2 separate regions of the Homo sapiens genome follow, and region 2 is linked to region 1. The links are contacts of gene promoters, found by promoter capture Hi-C in human tissues and cell types (Jung and others, 2019). All regions are on one chromosome and are shown on one strand. Each heading gives the region's core, a stretch centred on a gene start or on the middle of the fragment in contact. The rest is flanking DNA. Distances are from core to core; before and after follow the strand shown.

Evidence for each region. The method cuts DNA at HindIII sites, captures the fragments that hold promoters and counts their contacts. A contact is called where the count stands out against the background at its distance.
Region 2: a contact is called between a fragment that was not itself captured here and the fragment with the promoter of GATA2 in region 1, in 1 of the 25 tissues and cell types used here (lymphoblastoid cells).

The regions. Positions count from the first base shown.
Region 1 is chr3:128,489,778-128,496,802 of GRCh38, forward strand. It overlaps GATA2 (GATA binding protein 2), which reads right to left and starts at 3,424. Exons shown (of 6, transcript NM_032638.5): 1 at 3,122-3,424. GATA2-AS1 (GATA2 antisense RNA 1) reads left to right here. Exons shown (of 3, transcript NR_125398.1): 2 at 2-292. RefSeq lists enhancers at 1-552, 553-1,362 and a silencer at 3,134-3,223. The HindIII fragment of the contact is 13,259 bases long and covers 1-5,496 here.
Region 2 is chr3:128,010,522-128,017,546 of GRCh38, forward strand. No RefSeq gene overlaps it. Among named protein-coding and RNA genes, the nearest start is that of SEC61A1, 38 kb to the right of the region's middle. RefSeq lists an enhancer at 1,024-1,524. The HindIII fragment of the contact is 7,137 bases long and covers 635-7,025 here.

The DNA of each region.
Region 1 (7,025 bases), core at 2,174-4,673:
GCTTACGATTCTTCATCAACTCGTAAAATGAGATCGCCGCGGAGCTCGAGCCTATTTGGCGTCTCCGGAGACTAGCAAGACCCTCTGAAAGACACCGCGTCCCCAGGGATAATCCCCCGTGTCCGGCAAAGCTGCCCCGCTCGAGCGCGAACCCTGGGACCCAGCGCGGGAGGCAGACCAGCAGCTGGCCGCTGGGCTGTGAACGCCAGGACCGAGCGGAAGCTTCCCGCCCGGCCGCGATCGGTGCCGCGGCTCTCAGGGAAGTGGCTACGCGCGTCCCTCGGGAAAGCAGGTAATTCGCCTTTTTCTCCCACCGGCGCGGTAAAAATTACCCTCCCCCTCCCCGTTCCGTGTGTATTCCCAGTTTCAGCGCAGCGAGCTCGGCGTCTAACCCCTCCGCGGCAGGGTCCCGGCCACTGCGGTAGTGGAGGTGGCCAGCCTGGCTGAGTCCCCTGCCCAAACGTCAGCCCTGTGCTGCCGCCTGCCTGACGCAGAGCGGAGCGAGGGAGGGGATTTAATTACCCCGCTCGGCAGCTCAGAAAATCGCCGCACAGAGGGGCTTAGCAGGACGGTTAAGGAGTGCTTGAGCAGGGGCCTCGGGAGACCCGAACCAGCCTCCTTGCCCGCAATCCGGTGTAGAGGAAAAAAAGGAAACAGGAGTTCTGCCAGGTCCTTTCAGGCCTTGGGGTTGCCTTCCTCGACAACGCAGGCAGGAGCCGGCTTGACCGAAGCCTCCACCTCGGTTGCAGGTCCTGCGTAGGATGCGGGACTGCTGCATTCTCTGGCGGAAACGAACCCGCCTGGGAGAGAGAAATGCGACGCCAAGTAGCAGGGCGCCCAGCTGGCCAATAAAGAGGGACCCGCGCTCGACAATGTCTGTGTGTGCCAGGCAGACCGAGGGACACCAACCGGGCCCCTCCCCATTAGGCCGAAGACATGGTCCTCCCACCTTGGGCCCCAAACAAACTCCCGGGGAGGGTCAACGCAGCCCCCAGAATCTGCTGGGGTCTTGAGGCGCTGTTCCAGGCCTGGTGAGAGCAGATTTACTCCAATTTATGGGCTGGAACTTTGGGGTCCCCAAAACACCTTTAGAGGGACGCGTTCCCTTTTTCAGTACTTTGTTCGTTCGGGAGTATAGTTGGAAATGCTGGCGCTGCCTTTGATCACATTAAGAAGCTGTCACTTTCCTTACTTGGGAACAAGATTTCTCTGAGGACTGGAGAAGGTCAGCCAGGAAGCAGAATTTTCGAAGGACCCTTTTGGCCCGAGAACTCACAGCGGCGATCGCCACCATTTGACCTGGGTGCTTCTGCCTGGGAGCTGGGGAGGTAGCAGATCTGGTGCCCGGTTCTAGAGTGCTTCTCAGGCCTCTACTAAGCCGCGGGTGCCAGGTGGGGACACAGAGATGCCCAGGTCTCCCCGGCCGTCCAGCCCCCCCCCCCCTCTGAGCCCTTTGTTTAAAGTTAGCTCATCCGAGGCGGCCCCTTTGGGACCATAAGTTTGCCCTCCCTTTGTAACCTAATTCTTCTCGCCTTTTCCTTATGGGCAGCTAATTGGCCCGCGGTGTGGGGCTGGGGGTGGGGTGTCAAGGAAACCCATTTGCTAAGGGACTACCTTCCATAGAGAAATTTAATTCGCAACCCAGCGGCCTCCCAGCCCCACACTGGCAATAAACCTTGAGGGGTACGGGGAGGAAGTGGGGTGCCTTAGCAGATGGGTTCAGAAGTTCCCTTAAAGCCGGGGCATTAGATCTCAGGCCAGCAGCCATCCCTCCGGGGGGGTTCCCAAGGGGGGGACTACTGCTATAACGGCCCCTCCTGCTCCTTGAGGTTCAATTCCAGCCCCTTAAAGCAGAAGGCTCCCTCCCTCGGCATCAGTGCAGGCTCTCCCACCTCATTACTGTTCTGTGTCTTTGGGAATCGTAGAGTCTGTGGCCCCCACGTCCTAGGTGTCTCGGCACCCTGGACCCAGGCGCCTCCGAGATTCTATATCGCTTCTGACCCCTACCTTCAAGCCTGGCAGGCTCCCCGCGGAACCCTGCTGAGACCCGGAGACAATCGGGCCGTGCTTCTCCCTCCTCCACGAACAGCCACGGTTTATTTGGAGCGGCCGGGGCCGGCGGCCTGACAACTGGTAAATCCGTTTCGTTAGGCACAATTTGTCTGCAATTTGTCAGCCCGGCTGGGAAACGCTCCCCAGACGCCTCGGCTGCCGCACGGGCCCTACCTGGTTCTCGAATCCTGCCTGCTCATAAACGAATCCTAGCACGGGGTGCCTGCGTAGACCTGGAGCTCACCACCAGATGTTCCCGACCTCGGGAGAGGAGGCTTTTTCCAAAACAACGAATTTCCTTCCTTGTTTTCCGGTAAAGGAGCGTTCGCCACACACGGGGTCCCTGAACGCGGGGCCTTTCCCCTCGTGGTTGGAGCAACGCGGAGTTCAAGCCTGGCCGCCACAGAATAATTTTAAATGCCCCGTTTTCAGACAGATCCAGAACGCCGTCTACGCCTACCGGCGGCAGATCTTCAAGCCCGCGGCGGCCCCATTCTTATTGAAATCCCACTAAACGGATTCCGACTCCGGCTTGGGGCGGGGGGAGACTTCCAGACCCGGCGCTCTCCCCCACACGCACCCCAGTCACACAGGATAAAGGGCTGCGGGGCGCAGCGCGCGGGGGCGCAAGCAGGAGCGAGCTGGGTTAAGCCGCGAAAAGCCGGCGCACGGGACCAGCCGGCAGGTGCAGCCGCCGCTCGGCGGCCCGGCTCGGACGCATCCGCCGCGGTGGCCTGGGGATTGGGGGCGGCCGAGACAAAGGCCCCAGTTCGGGGGCCGGGAGGCGGGGGTGCTTTGCGAGGCTCTGGGAATGCCAGGGTCTCGTGGCCTGTGGCTCCGAGAAATGGGAAGACAAGAGGCCCGAGGCGGGCCTGCTGTGCCCAGGTAACCAAATACTCCCTCTGGTTAAAGTCCCTATAACCAGGGTTTCCGGTCTCTGGCAGGGCCAAGGCGAGCCCCAAAGGTAGGGGCCACAGGGCAAACGGACCAAGCGATTCGGGTGCCAGGCGGGCCGGGCCGGGGGCGGGAAGGGCCGGGCCCAGGGAAGGTGGAAGTGGAAGAAACTCACCGAGCGAGGCGCGGTGGGCGGCGCCCCCGGGCGGACGGGGCCTGGAGTAGAGCTGGGAGCAGGGCGAGGTGCGCGGCAGGCGGGCTCGCGGGACCTGGGCGCGGGGTGGCGGCGCTCACCAGCAGAGCCTGGGCGGCACGCCGAGCGGCCGCATGGTGTTCAGCGGACCGCTTTTGTCCGCCTGGTGGGCGACGGGGCCCTGCTAGGATGGATGTGGCGGCAGGCAATAGACAGACTTGAGCAGCGAGTCCCGGGGCGACGCTGGCCTCGCTACCTTCCTGGCGCTCACGCTGCCTCTCTCTCCCCCACCGGCCGCAACGCGGCTTTTTATTTCGACATCACTTTGCGGGGGGGCAGGGGGTGGCGACGGGGGCGGGAGCGCCGCAGGGGGCAGGAGGGTACCCGGGGCTCTGCACCCGGCCTACCAGGTCCAGCCGCCTGGCCGGCCAAGGGCCGCTAGGCACTCAGGGCGCGCACACCCTGTGCATCCACACTCCAGGCCGCTCCCACCCTCTCCGGAGCGCACACGCGCGCCCCTGACCTCAGGGATGCTTGCTCAGAAAGCTTGGGACACGTCTTTACTGAGACTCTCCCCGGGGACCCTCAGGAGCTGTGAGCACACGCACTCACTGATAATGGTACACAGACGCCCGCTCCTCTGTCTTCAACCCACTTCCAGGAGTGCTCACACGGACACGCACACATCCCTGCACATGTGCACACAGCTGTGGCCGCGAGGACATCCTCAGACAGACGGCCTGGGTCACACCGACACACATGGCCATACAATCAGATGCAACTCGGCACTCGGGCTCACACTCAGGACGCCCTCACTGCCAGGCTTGTTTAGCTAAGTGCAGGCGCAGCCCCTCTCCCTGTCCCACCCCCCCTCCAGTTCCTAACGCTGGGGGACCCCCTGAGCACTTTAGAAGTCCACTGTCTGGTGTCCCCCTGGCCCATCTCCTTGGGGCAGACTCTCACAATGGGGGAAGCAAGGAAGTGTGCAGAGGGCTTGTTCACAGAAGTGGGAGTCAGGAGGGGGGGAGAAAGTGAGTGTGGGAGTCCTCATCCCCAGAAGGCCCCTGGGTTTGTGGGCAAAGACAGTCCAGTCCTTGTGCTGCCAAAGTTCTTACTAAGGGATTCAACCAGTCAGCGTCCCCCCACCCCCACCCCTGATTCCCATTCCAGCAGATCAGGGAGAGTGAAAGTGGCCTGGGGACCTTGAGCCCAGAGGGAAAGTGCTTGGGCTTGGAAGGACTGGGAAATCTGTGCTCCCGTGCCCAGGTGTGCCCCAGAGGAGTGTTTCTGTCCCCTGGTCTTTGTGACCCCTGCTGTCCATAGGTCTTTCTCCAAATCTGGTGGTGACTATTGCATTGTGTGTGTGTTCTATGCATGTGGCTCAGAGTCTATGTCCTGTGTGCCCAGGTGTGTCTGTGTGCACTTAGGAGCACACAGGAGTGTCTGCAAAACTGGGTGTATGAGTATGTTCATTTCTTCTTGTGGGTTCCTGAGAGTTTGTGTATTGGGCAGTAGGTCACAGTGTGGCTATTTCATGACCCTGGAATTTGGCACAAGAGAGTGTGTCTGTGGAAATGGTTGTGCGTCCCTTTGGCTCTGTGTCTGTGGGGTCATCATGTCAGAGACTCATGTAATGAGGGGTGGGGATTTCCAGGTGTTTGCCCATGTGTCTGTAGCAGTGTGTGGCATGTCTATGAATGGGTGTGTTTTGGAGTGTGTGTTTGCGTGTGTATGTGCATGTATCTAGGCATGTGTTACTGTGTGTATTTTTGTTGTTGTTGTTGTTTTGTTTTGTTTTGTTTCTTGAGACAGGGTCTTGATCTGTTACCCAGACTGAAGTGCAGCGGTTCAATCAGCGCTTACTGCAGCCTCAACCTCCCAGACTCAAGCCATCCTCCCACCTCAGCCTCCTGAGTATCTGGGACCACAGGCATGTGCCACCGTGCCTGGCTAATTATTTTTATTTTTATTTTTGTGGAAACACAGTCTCACTATGTTGCCCAGACTGGTCCCAAACTCCTGGACTAAAGCAATCCTCCCACCTCGGCCTCCCAAAGTCCTGGGATTATAGGCGTGAGCTACTGCGCCTAGCCTGTGTGTGTCTTTAATAGTTTGTACCTGGGTATCTGCATGTGTCCTTGAACTGGTGTATGTGTAGGTGTGTGTGTGTGGTGTGTTGCATGTGTCTGGATATCCATGTATAATTCTCTTTATTAATTGATGGCTGTTGGGGCGTGTGTTTGTGTTTGTGTATTTGAACATGCATTTGGCTATGTGCATGTCCATCTGTCTTTAACAGCATAGGTATCAGTGTATATCATTGTATCTTTGAACTGATGGTGGGGAGGAGGAGATGTATCCGAGTGTGTCTGCATGTCTACGTACAGCTCCATGTATGAATTGATGTGTGTTGCGGTGGGTGTTTGTGTCTGCGTATCTGGGTTGTGGGCAACTGTGTATATGACTACATCTTTGAAATGCATGTTTCTGTGGCCAGCAGTGCCCTGTTCTGTGGACTGTAGAAAAGTGTGTCCTGGGTGACACGCGGGGTGTGCATCCTGCAGGATCACACACCATCCAGACCTTCCTTAACCAGCAGGGCAGGCCGCCAGTGGAGCTCTAGGGTACCATTTGCTCGGGCACTTTCTGTCTGTCTGTGGGAGGGGAGATGAGCTGATAAGGCTTATCTGCTGTCGCCAGCGCCATGCTGAATAACTGCTCTAATGAGGTGTCCTCATTGGGACCACCCGATCCCAAGGCCCTGGGCCTCACTGGGGAGGGGCATGGGCGAGCTTGTCTGAAGCACAGGAGCAGGGCCTGGGTGCCTACAGGGCCTTTTCTACTTCTGTCTTGTTTCCTTGGAAAGGGGGTTCCAGGCCTTGCACCTCCCCACCCCACCTGCCTCCTGCCTACTGGGCGGAGCTGGGCTGGCCAGGCCAGAGCTGGCTGGAGCCTTCCAGTCTCTGGTCTGTGGCCAGGTTCACAGCCTTGAGAGGGCAGGAGGTATGAGGCCTGGAGATGTGGGGCCCTCAGGGTGGGGTGGATGAAGAGAAATGGAGATTCAGTGACAGAAAGATCCAGAGAGACAAGGAGTGGGGAAAGAGATGGGAGGCCCAAAGACAGATTTTAAAAAAACAATGAGGAAGAGGCACTGGTGGGGACAGGCCTGGAGCTTGGGGACACTTGGAGACAGACAGAAATAAACAACTAAAAAGTGGCAGAAAGGGTCAGAAAGATGGGAATAAAAGCAAAGAAGGTGATAACCACAGAGACATGGACAGAGACAGGAGAGAGATAAGAGAGGACAGAGAGATAAGACAAAAATAGAGAGATTCAAAGAGAGGCGCAAAGAGCCAATGCGAGAAGAGGGACGTGAGAAGGGCCCCAGAGAGAAGAGTGGGGACGCAAAGGAAAGATGGGCAGGATGGGATGGACAGACTGAGATGGAAAGGCCGACAGGGCTTAGCCGCCAAGCTCGAAGGAAGCGCGGGAGGCCGGGCGCCGGGCGAGGATGGGCTGGGCATGAGCTGCGGGCCGCGGGCAGGGCGGGACACCAAGGCGCGGGCGGTGGTGGCGGGCAGGGGGCTCCGCGCGGGGCTGCGCCGCTGTCCGGGGTAATTTTTCATCTCGGCCGGCTAATCTTTGTTCCCGGCGAAGATAATGAATAGCCAGTCGTTATCTGCCCGGCTCCCGGAGGCTGCCCGAGAATGGGGTTGTACAGGGCTGGGAATTGTTTCCAAAGTGCCGCGGAATAAATGGTGTTCCTTATCTCTGCCTTCCAGATTATCGGAGCCCTTTCAGAGAGCGCACAACAAATGCGCCCGCCATCGAATGCATCATTTACCACCGCAGATCCGAGCGCTGATGGGCAGGCAGATAGCCCTCT
Region 2 (7,025 bases), core at 2,953-5,452, 480 kb before region 1:
ACAAGCCTGGCTCTGCTGTAGACTTGAGAAACCTGGTAGGCATTATTTTGGGGGTGTCTGTGAGCGCGTTTCCAGGGGAGACGAGTGCGTGAGTCTGACTGGATCAGGGGAAAGATCTGTTCTCGGTGTAAACAGGCACATTTATTTATTGCGCAGATAAATCCCCTTTTAAAAATGTTAATAAATGTCTTTTAGAGAATTCTAAAATTATTTTTTCCAGAATTACGTTTCGGGGATTTTTATCTTTTGAAATTTTGATTTTCAAGATTCTATACTCTAGGGATTTTGATCTTTCAGGATTTCAGCTTTCAGGATTATGGAATTTGGAACTGTCTTTTGGTACTATGGCCCAAACTGGTGTGCATACGTGTGTGTGTGTGTGTGTTCATGAGTGTACATATATTGTGTATATCTGTGTGTGAATGGGGTATATGTACATATGTGTGTATATGAGTATGTGTGTGTGTTGTTGGTAAACACAAATCTAGAGAAAAAAATTGTATTTTTTCCGGTGCAAAGAAAGGGAATAAGGCACCCCCTCCCACTTCCTACTTCCTTTAATAAAGCTGAAATTGTAAACGCTACCTCTGTCTCCTTGAGATGTATGTAAATTTATTTTATTGTATCATTATTATTGCAGTAAAGAAATAGTTTATGACCCGAGGCCGGCCACCCTGGAGATTGAGTTATCACTCAATCTCGCTGAGGAGTTGGGGGGGGCTTTCAAGGGTTTTGGAGTGGTGATCGCTGATTGGTTAGGGATGAAATCTTAGGCGTGGGAAACCTCCCTGAGTCCGCCTCAGTCTGGGATCCTCTGACAGGTTTTGCAGCCCCGGGCTCCTTCTCTCCGCCTTGGAAACAGCCAGGAGGTGGCGCCGGATCTCCCCCATCCTCAGGAGTGTGAGGCCCAGGTGCTCGCTTCAGGAAGTAAACTTCTTGTCAAAAGACAGGAGGCATTTGGGAAATTAGCACGTATGGAGTGGGTGGTGTCTGCCAGGCTATGAAAGCTCTTTTTCTTTGCAATCTCTTTAGCCGACTGTCTGTGATGCACACTGCTGTCTAGTTGTAGCAAAACTAACTTCCTGTTACCTTTGTGGAGAGGTTTTCTGGGTTGACAGATTTTGTTTTTAATCATTTTCCCAATGACATGTGTGTGTTTAAGATATGTGTCTATGGCGGCGGTGGGAGCGGGAGAGTGTCCTAAAAAGCCGGTTCAGTGCACACCTCTAGGACTGGTGGAACTGAAGCTGGAATCGGGGATGGGAGGGACAAACCAGTTTTTTCCTATACACTCTGTGTAGCAACAGAACTAAGCACGTGCATGTGCCTTGCATCACAGTTCACTTAGCAACGAGCTGCATCTATGACTGTGGTCCCATAAGATGATAATGGGACCGGGCGTGGTGGCTCACGCCTGTAATCCCAGCACTTTGGGAGGCCGAGGCGGGTGGATCACCTGAGGTCAGGAGTTCAAGACCAGCCTGGCCAACATGGCAAAACCCCGTCTCTACTAAAAATACAAAAATTAGCTGGGTGTGGTGGCGTGAGACTGTAATCCCAGCTACTCGGGAGACTGAGGCTGGAGAATCGCTTGAACCCGGGAAACGGAGGTTACAGTGAATCGAGATCGTGCTACTGCACTCCAGCCTGGGCAACAGAGTAAGCCTCCGTCTCAAAAAAAAAAAAGGACCTAAAAATCCCCCTCGCCTAGTGACGTCACATCAGCTATGACGTCATCGCACACATTCCTCTCTGTGTGTGGTGATGCTGGTGTACACAAACCCACTGCACTGCCAGTCGGATGAAAGCCCAGCACATGCAATTATGTACAGTACATAATACTTGATCCTATTAATAAACGACTGTGTTACTGTCAGAGGCATTGAAACCAGTGCAAATCCATCTTGAGTAGGGACTGGGTAAAATAAGGCTGAGACCTACTGCGCTGCGTTCCCAGACAGTTAAGGCATTCTAAGTCACAGGATAAATTAGGAGGTCGGCACAAGATACAGGTCATAAAAACCTTGCTGATAAAACTGGTTGCAGTAAAGAAGTCGGCCAAAACTCACCAAAACCAAGATGGCCATGAGAGTGACCTCTGTTCGTCCTCACTGCTACACTCCCACCAGCGCCATGACAATTTACAGATGCCATGGCAACATCAGGAAGTTATCCTACATGGTCGAAAAGGGGAGACAAGAATAATCCATCCCTTATTTACCATATCATCAAGAAATAACCATAAAAATTGGCAACTAGCAGCCCTCAGGGCTACTCTGCCTACAGAGTGGCCATTCTTTTGTTTCTTCGCTTCTCCAATAAACTTGCTTTCACTTTACTCTACAGATTCGCCTCGAGTTCTTTCTTGCCCGAGATCCAAGAATCCTCACTTGGCATCTGGATCATGACCCCTTTCCAGTAACATTACCAGTTTATGTATTTACTGTATTTTACTTTTTAATCATTATTTTAGAGCATACTCCTACTTATTAAAAAAAAAGTTAGTGATAAAACAGCCTCAGGCAGGTCCTTCAGAAGGGATTCCAGATGAAGGCATTGTCATCACAGGAGGTGACGGCTCCATTAGTGTTACTGTCCTTGAAGACCTTCCAGTGGGACAGGAGTTGGAGGTGGAAGGTAATGATATCACTGATCGGGACCCTGTGTAGCAGGTCTCAGCTAATGTGTGTGTTTGTGTCTTAGTTTCTGAAAAAAATGTTTAAGAAGTAAAAAAAAAAAAAAAAATTAATAGAAAAAGGTTTATACAATAAGAATATAAAGAAAGAAAATATTTGTGTATGATTGTACAATGTGTTTGTGTTTTAAGTTAAGTGTTATTACAAAAGAGTTGAAAGTGGCTGGGCATGGTGGCTCACGCCTGTCATCCCAACACTTTGGGAGACCAAGGCGGGCAGATCACAAGGTCAGGAATTCAAGACCAGCCTGGACAACATGGTGAAACCCCATCTCTACTAAAAATACAAAAATGAGCCGGGCATAGTGGCGCACACCTGTAACCCCAGCTACTCGGGAGGCTGAGGCAGGAGAATTGCTTGAACCCTGGAGGTGGAGGTTGCAGTGAGCTGAGATTGCGCCACTGTACTCCAGCCTGGGTGACAGAGCGAGACTCTGTCTCAAAAAAAAAAAAAAAAAAAAAAAGAGTTGAAAGTTAAAAAAATTGAAAAGTTTCTGAAGTAAAAATGTTACAGTAAGCTAAACATAGTTTGTTATTGAAGAAATAAAATATATTTTATAAATTTGTGTAGCCTAAGTACACACATTTATAAAGTCTGCTATAGTGCACAGTACTGCCCTAGGCCTTCAGGTTCACTTACCACTCACTCACCGACTCACTGACTCACCCAGGGCGACTTCCAGTCCCACAAGGCTCCATCCCTGGTGAGTGCCCTATACAGGGGTACCTTTTCACAATTTTTTTTTTTTGAGACAGTCTCGCTCTGTCGCCCAGGCTAGAGTGCAATGGCACCATCTCAGCTCACTGAAACCTCTACCTCCTGGGTTCAAGTGATTCTCCTGCCTCAGCCTCCTGAATAGCTGGGATTACAGGCACTCACCAACATGTCTGGCTAATTTTTGCATTTTTAGTAGAGATGGGGTTTTGCCATGTTGGCCAGGCTGGTCTTGAACTCCTGACCTTAGGTGATCCACCCGCCTTGGCCTCCCAAAGTGCTGGGATTACAGGCATGAGCCACCATGCCCAGCCGGAATTCTTAATTTCTGAAAAACTGAGTTCCTTCCAGTTTATATATTAGGCACAGGAATCCTGATCCAAAGGAAATACACTGCAGCACCAATTGGCTGACTTTGGATAAGTAATGGGGTACATTTTACTTGAGTAAAGGATGGGATTGAGTTAGAGGGCCTCCCCTCAGTAAAGTCCCTCTTGGTTAAAAATAGATTAAAGATGACAGGGTCCAACTGAGGGCAAGCCTTGCCAGTTCAATATTGGGTGCTAAACAGCGTGGCCAATGTCTATGTTTTGTCACTCATATTTTCCTCTGGCCAGAATGAAAAATGTTAATTGGGTTACCCCATGCAACCCCTTGAGCAGCAACTTGCAAAACTGAGAGGCTTTTGCCTGATTCCATAAAACAAAAAAAGATGATTTTCCTTTATGATGTGGCTTGGCCCCCAGGGCTATAGTGTGGCAAGCAGGGTCACTAGGGTTGCTCAGGGAAAGGGAACCCAGGAGCCTGGCATGCCCGCAAAAGGGTAAGAATTTATTACCAGTCGGACTCTGACCTTTCTCTCTCTGTGAAAACTGGTTAAATAAATGGTAAAAATCACTGTTTATCTCCTCTCTAAAGTTTTGATTAACACAAAAAAGAATTCTGAGGCTGGTCTTAAGCTGTAGTGAACCTGGTGTGCTTTATGTGTCTTTCTGTATTGTTCTGTCGTGAAAGGGAGTACCTTAGGATAAAGCATGTGTCTAGGACACCATAAACCCACTGTTCAAGATGGCCCAGAAAACTGGTCAGTCATGTCCTTGGGAGCCTGACCTTATAACCATGTGGCCATGCTTTCCCTTTTCATAATGGAGGCCCAGGTTCAGGGTTCAATTCCCTTAGGAAATGAGTACTTTCTGGTTTGATATCTGTGTAATCCTTACCATTTGTTGATTCTCTTCCCCTCCATGAACCATCTTAAATTTTCCTTTCTCTGAGCACAGAAATACTGTGCATTTGGCCTAGGCAAGGCTGCATAATAAAAGATTTAAAAGGAATTTTAAAAAGAGCACTATAGTTAAAAGTCAGCTTAATTAAAACTGGATATTAAAGCTCTAACAGCCTGGGACTCCTTGGGAAAAACAGGAGGCTCCAGAGACCTGTTTTGGAAAAAAATCCCTTTTCCTCATGGAACCTCAGGAATTGGAAATGGATAGATCCTCCTCAAAATCTAAGGCTCTGTTCTTTTTAGGATCCAGGATCTGGTGTAAAAATGGGATCTGTTTTTCCCTTCCAACTGTGCCTGCTTATTAGGCTCTAGAAATTGCAGGCTTTCCTGGCCCTGTTCTTCCACCCTAGGACTCCACTCTAAAGCCAGTAATCCAACTTAAAAAACTTAAAACTTGGCTGGGCACAGTGGGTTATGCCTGTAAACCCAGCACTTTGGGAGGCTGAGGCAGGTGGATCACGAGGTCAGGAGTTTGACACCAGCCTGGCTAACATGGTGGAACCCCGTCTCTACTAAAAATCCAAAAAATTAGCCTGGTGTGGTGGTACACACCTGTAATCCCAGCTACTTAGGAGGCTGAGGCAGGAGAATCGCTTGAACCCAGGAGGCAGAGGTTGCAGTGAGCCAAGATCACGCCACTGCACTCCAGCCTCGGTGACAGAGTGAGACTCTGTCTCAAGACAAAAAACACACACACGCATACACACAACTTAAAAATTGGCAAATGAAAAATCTTACAACTACTTCTGTCTGTCTGTGCAGTTATATATGTGTTGTGTGTGTGATGTTTATATAAAAGAGCTCTAATTAATTGGCTTTAAGAAAACTAAGCACTTAAATCAAATATTTTGGCAGAAAAGTAAAAACTGTAATGTCTTAGTTCACATAACTTTAGTAATCTTGGGGAAATAAAAACAGCTTTAAAGACTATTGGTAAAATAAAGACATTTGGTCTAAATTAGGCAGGTTAGATATTTGATTTGCTAAATGCTTTAAGGTCATAAACTGCTTCTTAGGCTTTTGAAAATTATTCAATTTACCTACTTTGGAGCATTAGATTCTAAATAAGGGCCAGGCACATGGCTCATACCTGTAATCCCAGCACTTTGGGAAGCCAAAGCAGGTGGATCACTTGAGGCCAGGAGTTCGAAAGCAGCCTGGCCAACATGGAGAAACCATGTCTCTATGAAAAATACAAAAATTAGCTGGGTGTGGTGGCATGTATCTGTAATTCCAGCTACTCAGGGGGCTGAAGCAGAAAAATCACTTGAACCTGGGAGGCAGAAGTTGCAGTGAGCCAAGATCAGACCACTGCACTCTAGCCTGGGTGACAGAGTGAGTGAGACTTTGTCTCCAAAAAAAAAAAAAAAAAAAAAAATCCAAATAAGGCCTGGGGACAACCAGTAAAATAACTTGTTGTTTAAAAAGAGGGATGTTTAGGACAAGTCAGAAAGTCCATGCATGTTGTAGATGGCTTGTGTACATTGTGAAAGGATTTGTGAAAGAAAATTTATGCACCAAAAGTAAAAGTTGCTAAGAGTTACCATTGTAACACGTGATTGAGACTACTGAAGAAATAGTTTTACATGCAAGGTGTGTGAGGAGAATGAAATGTGTTTTTGGTAAAAGATTCTAAGAAAGCATGGGAATGTAAATTTTTGCATAGTTTAGAGAGCTAAAGGATTGTTTTAGATAAGAATAAGCTAAAGGTTTGAACAAGTTGTGGAAGTTTTGTAAAAATTAATGTTGTTAAAAAAAATTCTGTATGTGAACATATTGACTAAATTTAAAGGAGTATTTTCCAATTTTTCCATAAATTGAACATCAAAATAAAGGCACAAACAGGGTTTCCTTAAATCACTGATCTGTTCTTTTTTTTTTTTTTTTTTTTTTTTTTTTTTGAGACAGAGTTTTACTCTTGTTGCCCAGGCTGGAGTGCAATGCTGAGATCTGGGCTCACCGTAACCTCTGCCTCCTGGGTTCAAGCAATTCTCCTGCCTTAGCCTCCCAAGTAGCTGGGATTATAGGCATGTGCCACCACACCTGGCTAATTTTTTATTTTTAGTAGAGATGGGGTTTCTCCATGTTGGTCAGGCTGGTCTCAAACTCCCAACTTCAGGTGATTTGCCCGCCTTGGCCTCCCAAAGTGCTGGGATTATAGGCATGAGCCACAGTGCCCTGCCTGATCTGCTCTTTAACAAAACTTTGTAAAGGGTTACAAAAGGTTTATGATAATCTCATCTTATGGTCAAACTGATTAAGATTGGAAAGATTTGTCTGTAAGGTTTTATTAAAAATTGGGGTTAACATTAATAGTAAACTAATGCAAG